Linked DNA regions of Homo sapiens: region 2 is linked to region 1. The links are contacts of gene promoters, found by promoter capture Hi-C in human tissues and cell types (Jung and others, 2019). All regions are on one chromosome and are shown on one strand. The core of a region is centred on a gene start or on the middle of the fragment in contact, and the rest is flanking DNA. Distances in the headings are between cores, read along the strand shown. Region 1 holds the start of TRIM60 (tripartite motif containing 60). Region 2 has its middle 14 kb from the start of TRIM61.

What was found. Contacts are between HindIII fragments. The study calls those that stand out against the background at their distance.
Region 2: a contact is called between a fragment that was not itself captured here and the fragment with the promoter of TRIM60 in region 1, in 3 of the 25 tissues and cell types used here (H1 embryonic stem cells, dorsolateral prefrontal cortex and neural progenitor cells).

Annotation. Positions count from the first base shown.
Region 1 is chr4:165,028,970-165,034,596 of GRCh38, reverse strand. TRIM60 (tripartite motif containing 60) reads right to left here and starts at 2,598. Exons shown (of 3, transcript NM_152620.3): 1 at 2,485-2,598. RefSeq lists an enhancer at 2,440-3,096. The HindIII fragment of the contact is 10,604 bases long and covers 1-5,627 here.
Region 2 is chr4:164,989,147-164,994,773 of GRCh38, reverse strand. No RefSeq gene overlaps it. Among named protein-coding and RNA genes, the nearest start is that of TRIM61, 14 kb to the right of the region's middle. RefSeq lists an enhancer at 3,083-3,776. The HindIII fragment of the contact is 5,765 bases long and covers 517-5,627 here.

The DNA of each region.
Region 1 (5,627 bases), core at 1,349-3,848:
AATGGATGCTTTGGGGCTGAGTAAATTTGAAAAGGAAGTTTTAAGCATTCTGAACAAAGCTGTACAGCCAATACATTGCAAAATATGACTGGAATTTTTTAAATTATAAGAAAGAACCACATTGCTGTAAAAAAGGGTATTTCATGGACGGGCGCAGTGGCTCACGCCTGTAATCCCAGCACTTTGGGAGGCCGAGGTGGGTGGATCATGAGGTCTGGAGTTCGAGACCAGCCTGACTAACATGGTGAAACCCCGTCTCTACTAACAATACAAAAATTAGCCAGGTGTAGTGGCGTGCGCCTGTAATCCCAGCTCCTCAGAAAGGCTGGGGCAGGAGAATTGCTTGAACCCAGGAGGTGGAGGTTGCAGTGAGCCGAGATCACGCCACTGCACTCCATCCTGGGCGACAGAGTGAGAGTCATCTTAAAAAAAAAAAAAAAGTGTATTTCATTTAAAATAAAAAGGTGCAGGGAACATTCCTGCATAGATCCTGGAACTCAATGGTTCGTCCTTCCCCACACACTCCAGCTTCCCCTAACCCATCTTCCAGACTCAGGCAATGAAGTTTAAAGAACAGCATTATAAGCCACTCTTCTCAGTCCAAGCTATAAACATTAGCCTACTATAGTAACTATCTTCTGATACCTGAAGACAAGGCCCCTGTCTCCCAGCATCTATGGGAGAGTTGGGGCCTGACTTCCTTAAGTGCCAGTGAGCAAACCTGGGTGTGTTTCACATGACCCAACCACCCCTTTCCCACTTTTTGTAATTTTTCACTTCCCTGACTCTACTGAGCGCCAACTCACTACCTTCATTCCCCAGTTCCCCTTTGAAGCACTTGGTCACCTCTGTACAAATCACAGTTGAGTTCTGTTCATGCTGAATTCTCCCTATTGCAATAGTACAGTACTGATTAAAATCTGTCCTTATGACTACCCAGTGTCTGGCTTTATTTTTGACATGCTCTATCCCGTCAATCAATTCCATAACTCTATAGTTTCCAAACACAGATCTAATCCTATAACCTTCCGATTTCCAATGGAATGGCTTTTCTTACTCTTAAGTATTACAAGACTCACCAACATCTGGACTTTACTCTTTTCCTGACTCCACATATCTATCATACTGCAGATTACAGTTGAGATTTTTACATTTATTTTTGTCAACCTTTGGTTAAGGACACTGGAGAGTACAGTTCACGGTCTGAATTCTTCCTTATTTTCCTCACAACTGAATTACCAACTCTGATTCTTATGCTGGTGTACAACGTGTGTTCAATAATTATTAGGCTAATAAATCAAACCTGCAGTAGATTCCCTACTCTCAAAATTCAACCTCTACTGCTTGAGATCTTGTCACATTAAAAAAGAAAAATTCAACCTCTATTACCTTATTTATTTTACTTTTTGAGACAGGATCTCACTCTGTCGCCAAGGCTGGAGTGCAGTGGCGCGATCTCCATTCACTGCAACCTCTGCCTCCAGGCTCAAGCGATCCTCGCACCTCAGCCTCCCGAGTAGCTGGGACCACAGGCACGCCCCACCATGCCCGGATTTTTTTTTTTTTTTTTGTAGAGACAGGGGTCTCACTATGTTGCCCAGGCACGAGCGTGAGCTAGAACTCCTGGGTTCAAGCGATCCTCCCGCATCGGCCTCCTCATGGGGTTACAGGTGTGAGCCACCGCGCCTGGCTCCTACTCTGATTCTTGTGCTGGTTCATAGTGTGGGCTCAGTGAATATAAATCAAACCTGTGGGAGATTCCCAGATCTCAAGATTCAACCTCTATTACTTTAGATGATACGAAACGTAAGTGAGCCTAAACTTTCTCATCCGTAGCAGTTTCCTGACAGCCAGATCCTTGTGAGGACGGAAGGAGACAAAATCCGCCAGAGAAGTGCTGGCGCTGTAGGGTGGGAGGTCCTTCCTTAACGCTCCCACCATAATTTTTGGAGATCACGTGGCCACTTCCCAAACTGGTGTTCAGATCAGAATCTTCTTTAAAGTTCAATCATCGGGGTCCCACTGCCTCCGCGGCGAAAACAGAATCCGGCCGAGCACGGTGGCTCACGCCTGTAACCCCAGCACTTTGGAAGGCCGAGGCGGGCGGACCACCTGAGGTCGGAAGTTCGACACCAGCCTGGCCAACATGGAGAAACCTCGTCTCTACTAAAAATACAAAAATTAGCTGGGTGTGGTGGCGAGCGCCTGTAATCCCAGCTACTCAGGAGGCTGAGACAGGAGAATCGCTTGAATCCGGGAGGCGGAGGTTGCAGTGAGGCGAGATTGCGCCACTGCACTCCAGCGTGGGTGACAGAGCGAGACTCCGTCTCAGAAACAAAAAAAAGGATCCACAGTCTGAGCTCAGTCGTGGACAGGTCGCGACCCCGAGGTTTGGGCACAGCTGATACTCAGGAAGCCCCTGCCCAGTTAAGTAAGCCTCCCGCCAGGCCCTACTGCGCCTTTCCTGCGGCCCTCCCAGCTTACCTGGAGCAGTTGGACCGGCGGCTCAGGCCTGATGCTGTGCAGGACCCATGGAACCCCGCGGGGCGCAGAGCGGAAACCCTCACACAACCCTGGGCGCCTTGGTTTTCGAGTTTTAGGCATACAATTGACCAGCGCGGTGGTTGGCTGCTCCACCGGAAGTGGGCGGGAAAGGCCTGAGCATGCTCAATGCCGCAGGGTGCAGGGAGCGTGAGAAGATTCTGAGGAGAGCCTAGGGCGGTTCCCTCCGTGGTGGGGTCCCTGATGGCTTCAGTGGGTCATTTAAATCACAATGGCAATCTTTTCAGATTTTTCATTCCTATGAGCAACTTTTTTTTTTTCTTTTTTTTTGAGACAGGGTCTGGTGCGGTCTCGGCTCACTGTAGTCTCGACCATCCGGGCTCAAACGATCCTCCCACTTCACAGGCGCGCGCCACCACGCCCAGCTGATTGTTGTATTTTTTGGTGGAGACTGGGTTTCGCCACGTTCCCCGGGCTGGTCTCGAACTCATGGGCTCAAGCGATCCGCCTGCCTCGCTGTGAGCCACCGCGCCCGGCCAGGGTGGTTAGTTTTAAAATGCAAGAGGAATAATCAGCTCTTTGGATCAGTTTGCGTCTCTGGTTGAGAGGCTGCGTAGTTACCACCCTGGAGATTAGGCCCCACCCTACCAACTAAGACTCACCAAGGTCTCGTCTGAGGAATTGATATTTAAAGTAGATTTTAAGGGACGAGTATGAGTTTGTTGGACAAACTTGACGGTAAAATCTTCAAGGCTGAAGGATTAGTCCTTGTGAGGAGCCTCTTAAGTCTTATAACTTGGTAAATGAGACAGTGAAAGAGGCTAATATTTGCAGAAGAAGTCATAGAATCGGCATAGCACTTTTTTATTTATTTATTTATTTTTGAGACGGAGTCTCGCTGTGTTGCCCAGGCTGGAGTGCAGTGGCACGATCTCGGCTCACTGCAAGCTCTGCCTCCCGGGTTCACGCTGTTCTCCTGCCTCAGCCCCCCGAGTGGCTAGGACTACAGGCGCCCGACACCACGCCCAGCTAATTTTTTCTATTTTTTAGTAGAGACGGGGTTTCACTCTGTTAGCCAGGATGGTCTCGATCTCCTGACCTCGTGATCCACCCGTCTCGGCCTCCCAAAGTGCTGGGATTACAGGCGTGAGCCATCGCGCCTGGCCGGCGCACTTTTCTGTTTAAAATGTAGGGCTACTTGGCCAGGCGCGGTGGTTCACACATGCAATCCCAGCACTTTGGGAGGCCAAGGCGGGCGGATCAGCTGAGGTCGGGAGTTCGAGACCAACCTGGCTAAAGTGGCAAAACCCCGTCTCTCTAAAAATACAAAAAATTAGCCGGGCATGGTGGTGCATGCCTGTAATCCCAGCTACTCGGGAGGCTGAGGCAGGAGAAGAGCTTGGACCCGGGAGGCGGAGGTTGCAGTGAGCCAAGATCGGGTCACTGCACTCCAGCCTGGGCAATAGAGTGAGACTCAGTCTCAAAATAAAAATAAAAAATAAATAAATAAAATAACTTAGAGCTACCTTCCCAGAAAAATACCCTCTTGTGATGAAGTCTGAGATTTGATGGAAGAGTGGGAAGTAGGAACAGGGAACAATAAGTGAAATCTTCAAATCTTCACACCTTAGTGCAGAAGATGCAAACAGAGAGGATGATAAAGGCTGTGGTTGGGAGGACACTGATCTGGAGTCTGACCAATGGGATGAAGGAAAGGAAACTCTAAAGGCTTAAGGCTGAATGGGGCCAGATTCCACCATAAAATTAAACCAAAGGCTGGGCGGGTGGCTCACGCCTGTAATCCCAGCACTTTGGAAGACCAAATGGAGAGGATTGCTTGAGGCCCGGAGTTCAAGACCAGCCTGAGTGACAGAGCGAGACTGACTCAAAACAGAAACAGAAAAGATGGATTGTATTGTGCTCCTGCTCTGGATGGAGGACCACGAATCTGTTCTGCAAGGACATAAGGAGCTCATGGTCCTCTGTGTACCCCTGACTAGTGCACACAGGGCATCTCTGAGCCTCTGCTGGGAACAGAATATCTCAGTGAGAATCACCTTAGGGGTACAGGTGAGGGAGACTCAGTAAAAGGCATGGAGCCTTCAGCAGGACCTAAGCTGGGGGTAGCCACATGGGAAAGAACCTTGCTGACTCATGTATTTTAATTTTTAGCAATACTTATGTACTTTAGAAACACATATATTTTAATATATATTTAAAATTTCATATAATTATAAATATTTTTATTGTATTATAGTAGCATGATATGTATATATTATATGTAAATATTTTACATGATATGTATATATTACCTATAAAAATTACGTATTTTATTTAATGAAAATTAAAATTTTTCTTATGGTATTATGTTAACATATGTATGTACACATAAACATGTGCAGTTCACTTTTTAACTCTTAAATCTTCAATGAGGAAGTTCTTTTATCATATGGGAATTGAAGAATTATACTTCTTGGAAGGAGCTTCACGCCAATTTACTTGTGGTCCCTCTAATTTTGTCAAAGGTGCTCTCTGTAAACAGAATATCTATCATTACAGTCAGCAGAAACATGAGAAACAAAAAAAATCTTTGGAATATCTTGAATTTGTGCCACATAAAACTCCTATTAAAAAATCTATATTCGTATTTATCCTTACATTAAATTAAAAGACATTGAGAGGCACTATTAGCAATCATTTTTGTATAATCATCAGACATCTACCTTTCCAAATTGAATTATAATATTTGATAAAAATATGTGCTTGAAATTAGAACCTAGTTAGGTGACTATTTTGTATTTGATTAGTTTGACTTTTAAATCTACATAGATCCCCAAGTTTCTCCTGCACGTTTTTATTTTCTTGCTTTTCTTGGTTGAAGAAACATGGTGGATATTCCTGTAGTTGCCAAGAGTTTGGATTTTACTAATTGATCTCTTTTTTTTTTTTTTTTTGAGACAGAGTTTCATTCTTGTTGCCCAGGCTGGAGTGCAATCGGCTCACTGCAAACTCCACCTTCTGGGTTCAAGCAATTCTTCTGCCTCAGCCTCCTGAGTAGCTGGGATTACAGGTATGCACCAGCACGCCTGGCTAATATTTTTTGTTTGTTTGTTTGTTTTAGTAGA
Region 2 (5,627 bases), core at 2,150-4,649, 41 kb after region 1:
TCTCATAGCATCCTCTGTACCCTTTTATATCACCATCAAATCACTTTTGACATCTTTCATCCTATTAGCCACTGACTCCACAATTCTTATTTAAGATTACATCTTCGGGCCAGGCGCGGTGGCTCACGCCTGTAATCCCAGCACTTTGGGAGGCCAAGGCGGGTGGATCACGAGGTCAGGAGATCGAGACCATCCTGGCTAACACAGTGAAACCCCGTCTGTACTAAAAATACAAAAAATTAGCTGGGCGTGGTGGCGGGCGCCTGTAGTCCTGGTTACTCCGGAGGCTGAGGCAGGAGAATGGCGTGAACCCAGGAGGCAGAGGTTGCAGTGAGCCGAGATCGCGCCACTGCACTCCAGCCTGGGCAACAGAGCGAGACTGTCTCAAAAAAAATAAATAAATAAAAAAGATTACATCTTTGGTTAACGTTGTAAATCTGCTAGACTTTCTCATGCAATACTTGACTTCCAAATATTATAAAGCAAACAAACAGAACTAAGAAACTAGTTGAAGGTATATTTAAATTTTAATTTCAAAAGGGTCCCACCAAATGTCCAATTATATAGCTGCTGTGGTATTTTGGCAGTTCTTCAAACATAATCAGGTTGCATTAAATTCAGCAATTTTACTCCTTGATATGTATTTTTAAAAATTGAAAACATAGGTCAACAAAAAAACTTGTGCACAAATGTTCATAGTATAATAGCATTATTCATAATAGCCAAATAATGGAAACAAATCCAAATTTTCATTAATCTATGAATGAATAAACAAAGTAGTATAACAATACTGTGCAACATTAGTCACCCAAAAAAGGAACAAAATACTGACCCATGCTTCAACATTAGATGAACATTGCAGACAATATGCTTACTGAAAGAAACCAGATACAAAAGGCTACCATTGCATGGTTTCATTTATGTTAGTTAACCAAAATAGTTTATACAGTCAGAAAGGGGATGGATGCTTGGTTTCAAGGCCCAGAGGAAGGAGACCTCTCACTAGGCAAAGAATTCCCTTTGGGCTCATGAAAATGTTCTGGAATTGCCGGGCGCGGTGGCTCAAGCCTGTAATCCCAGCACTTTGGGAGGCTGAGGCGGGCAGATCACGAGGCCAGGAGATGGAGACCATCCTGGTTAACACAGTGAAACCCCATCTCTGGCCGGGCATGGTGGCTCACGCCTGTAATCCCAGCACTTTGGGAGGCTGGGGCGGGCGGATCACCTGACGTCGGGAGTTCGAGACCAGCCTGACCAACATGGAGAAACCCTGTCTCTACTAAAAGTACAATATTAGCCGGGCATGGTGGCGCATGCCTGTAATCCCAGCTACTTGGGAGGCTGAGGCAGGAGAATCCCTTGAACCCAGGAGGCGCAGGTTGCAGTGAGCCGAGATGGCGCCATTGCACTCCAGCCTGGGCAACAAGAGCGAAACTCTGTCTCAAAAAAAAAAAAAAAGAAAAAAAGAAACCCCGTCTCTACTAAAAATACAAAAAATTAGCTGGGCATGGTGGCAGGCGCCTGTAGTCCCAGCTACTCGGGAGGCTGAGGCAGGAGAATGGCGTGAACCCGGGAGGTGGAGCTTGCAGTGAGCCGAGATCAAGCCACTGCACTCCAGCCTGGGCGACAGAGTGAGACTCCTTCTCAAAAAAAAAAAAAAAGAAAATGTTCTGGAATTAGAAAGTGATGCTGGGCTGGCCTCAGTGGCTCATGCCTGTAATCCCAACACTTTGGGAGGATGAGGTGGGAAGATCACTTGAGGTTGGGAGTTGGAGACCAGCCTGGCAAACATGGTGAAACCTTGTCTCTACTAAAAATACAAAAATTATCCAAGTATGGTGGTGCACTCCTTTAATCCAAGCTAGTTAGGAGGCTAAGGCTGGAGTATTGCTTGAATCTGGGAGGCAGAGGTTGCAGTGCACTGAGATCATACCACTGCACTCCAGCCTGGGTGACAGAGTGAGGCTCTGTCTCAAAAGAGAAAAATGTAAACTACAATATTTGGGTTAGATTAATTTTTTTTTTTTTTTTTTTTGAGGTGGAGTCTCACTCTGTTGCCAAGGCTGGAGTGCAGTGGTGAGATCTCGGCTCACTGCAAGCTCCACCTCCTGGGTTCAAGCGATTCTTCTGCCTCAGCCTCCTGAGTAGCTGGGAATACAGGCGCACCACTACCATGCCCGGCTAATTCTTATGTTTTTTCTAGAGACTGGGTTTCACTATGTTGGCCAGGCTGACCTCAAGTGATTCACTTACCTCAGCTTCCCAAACTGCTGGGATTACAGGTGTGAGACACCGTGCCCTGCCATAATTCTTTTTTTGTTTGCTTTTTTGTTTTTGAAATGGAATTCCCTCTTGTTGCCGAGGCTAGAGTGCAATGGCACAATCTTGGCTTACTGTAACCTCCGACCCCTGGGTTCAAGAGATTCTCCTACCTCAGCCACCCGAATAGATGGAATTACAGGTGCTCGCCACCATGCCCGGCTAATTTTTTTTTTCTTTTGAGATGGAGTTTCACTCTTGGTGCCCAGGCTGGAGTACAATGGCGTGATCTCGGCTCACCTCAACCTCCGCCTCCCGGGTTCAAACGATTCTCCTGCCTCAGCCTCCTGAGTAGCTGGGATTACAGGCATGTGCCAACACGCCCAGCTAATTTTGTATTTTTAGTAAAGATGAGATTTCTCCATAATGGTCAGGCTAGTTTCAAACTCCCGAACTCAGGTGATCTGCTCTCCTCGGCCTCCCAAAGTGCTGGGATTACAGGGGCGAGCCACCACGCTCGGACAATTTTTGTATTTGTAGTAGAGTCGGGGTTTTGCCATGTTGGCCAGGCTGATCTCAAACTCCTGACCTCAGGTGATACACCAGCCTCAGCCTCCCAAAGTGCTGGGATTACAGCCCTAAGCGACTGCACCCGGCCTTGTCCTAATTCCTAAGGTGATATTTAAAGCAGTCTGAGGGCAGAATAGCAAGGTAACCTCAAGGGAACCAAAAAGAGGTTGGAGTTTGAGGGTCCCCGGCAAAGCTTCACTCAACAATGGTGCTATCAAATAATACAAAATACACAGCAAATGCTCTATTTCTGAAGTTGGGAGCAGTGCTCCATTGCCACAGGTGCTACAGCTTAGAGGAGAAGGCACCAGGTGCTCCTCCCACTCAGAGGCGGCATAGCCCTGGGACTCACCTAACCTCCCGCACCAAGTTTCCTGAACTGTGCAGTATGAATTAGAACAGGATTCATCTCACACCAAATTTAAATAAGATCCAGTCAATTAAAACAGCAACTGAAACAGTGTTGTCTGATTTTAATTTCCTAAATTTGGAGAGCAGCACTTTCCAGTGGCTTGTGTGGCATCTCCAGGAGCTATGTGGACATTTCAGAGATACCATATTGTTTTAAAGGAGTGCTGTCATGTACTTCCATTCTGAAGGGGGGGGTTGCCCCTCCACACCTGTGGGTGTTACTCCTTAGGTGGAACGAGAGACTTGGAAAATAAAAAGACACAGAGACAAAGTATAGAGAGAGAAATAAGGGGGCCCAGGGGACCAGCGTTCAGCAGATGGAGGATCCCGCCAGCCTCTGAGTTCCCTTAGTATTTATTGATCATTCTTGCATGTTTCTCGGAGAGGCAGATGTGGCAGGGTCATAGGATAATAGTGGAGAGAAGGTCAGCAGATAAACACGTGAACAAAGGTCTCTGCATCATAGACAAGGTAAAGAATTAAGTGCTGTGCTTTAGATATATATACACGTAAACATCTCAATGCCTTAAAGAGCAGTATTGCTGCCCGCATGTCGCACCTCCAGCCTTAAGGCAGTTTTCCCCTATCTCAGTAGATGGAACATACAATCGGGTTTTATACCGAGACATTCCATTGCCCAGGGATGGGCAGGAGACAGATGCCTTCCTCTTGTCTCAACTGCAAAGAGGCGGTTCCTTCCTCTTTTACTAATCCTCCTCAGCACAGACCCTTTACGGGTGTCGGGCTGGAGGACGGTCGGTCTTTCCCTTCCCATGAGGCCATATCTCAGACTATCACATGGGGAGAAACCTTGGACAATACCTGGCTTTCCTAGGCAGAGGTCCCTGCGGCCTTCTGCAGTGTTTGTGTCCCTGGGTACTTGAGAGTAGGGAGTGGTGATGACTCTTAATGAGCATGCTGCCTTCAAGCATCTGTTTAACAAAGCACATCTTGCACCGCCCTTAATCCATTTAACCCTGAGTTGACACAGCACATGTTTCAGAGAGCAAGGGGTTGGGGGTAAGGTTACAGATTAACAGCATCTCAAGGCAGAAGAATTTTTCTTAGTACAGAACAAAATGGAGTCTCCTATGTCTACTTCTTTCTACACAGACACAGTAACAATCTGATCTCTCTTGCTTTTCCCCACACCATTCCTGTGGAAATATATGGTTGTTAGAGAGGGGAAAACATCAATATAGATATATTTAAATTAACACAGCTAAGGAAACTCCGAGAATACAAGTGAGCTTTCCAGAAGTAGAAGTGATCAGACAGGAGTTTCATGAAGCTGGTGCTCAATATTCAACCCAGCCTGCTCCTCAAGCGCGGTGAGGTTTGGGACATTGGACGGTGGAGTCTGAGTTGGGAGGGAGCTGTGCTGAGCTAACAACATTCCCTTGTTATTGACTTAAAATCAAGAAATAAGATTCACCCTCAGTCTAAGTTACTTACCTTCAATAGGATCTTGAGTTTGAGGGTCTCAGTTCTCTCCAGTTAATATATAAATTTCATGTGTTTTCAAGCAAATGTTTACAAGAACTCTGGTGATGTGTATCTGGTGATAGTAAAATTCCTATGCCAAAGTAATTGTCCAGGAGGCATCGAAGCCATTCTAAATAAGGAAGTACATACAGAGAAGATGTATTTTCCTAGTTGCTATCAAGATTTATTATACCATCCTACTATTGGACCAGGAATACAGAAATAAGTCTTTGAAAACATAGAGCTCAAAGCCCCCATCTGTGCTTATACATTTTCTAAAATACAACGTGCTAAAAGTTGTGGACCGGTAGTTCAGGCAAATGAGGTAATAACTCACCCAGAGTGAATAATGGGTGAAGACTGGGAAGGTAATTTAATACCAGTGATTTTTGAGGTAGCAGCTGCTAGATCACAAGCTTTTTGCTAATATTTTTTACCCAGTGTCTTACTCAGCTTGGGCTGCTATAAAAAACTACAATAGACTTGGTGGTTTAAACAAGAGACATTTAATTATGACAATTCCAGGGGTGGACAATCCCAAGATCAGGGTGTCAGCCTGGTGGGCTTCTGGTGAGGGCCCTCTTCTGGCCTGCAGGCTGCCTTAGTGCTATAACCTTACAAGGCAGAGTGAGGTACCTGGGAATTCTTTTCCTTTTCTCAAAAAGATATTAATCCCATTATGGGGGCTCCTCCTTTAGGACCTCATCGAAACCTAATTACCTGATAAAGATTTCATCTCCTAATACAATTGCATCGAGAGTCAGGGTTTGGACATGTGAATTTTAGGGGGATGCAAACATCTAGTCCATGACTCCCAGTAATACTTTTGTTTTCAAGTAATACATATTTTTTAAAATTTACAAAATCCTACTCTTCACACTCACTGGCTGTGCTTGAGAACA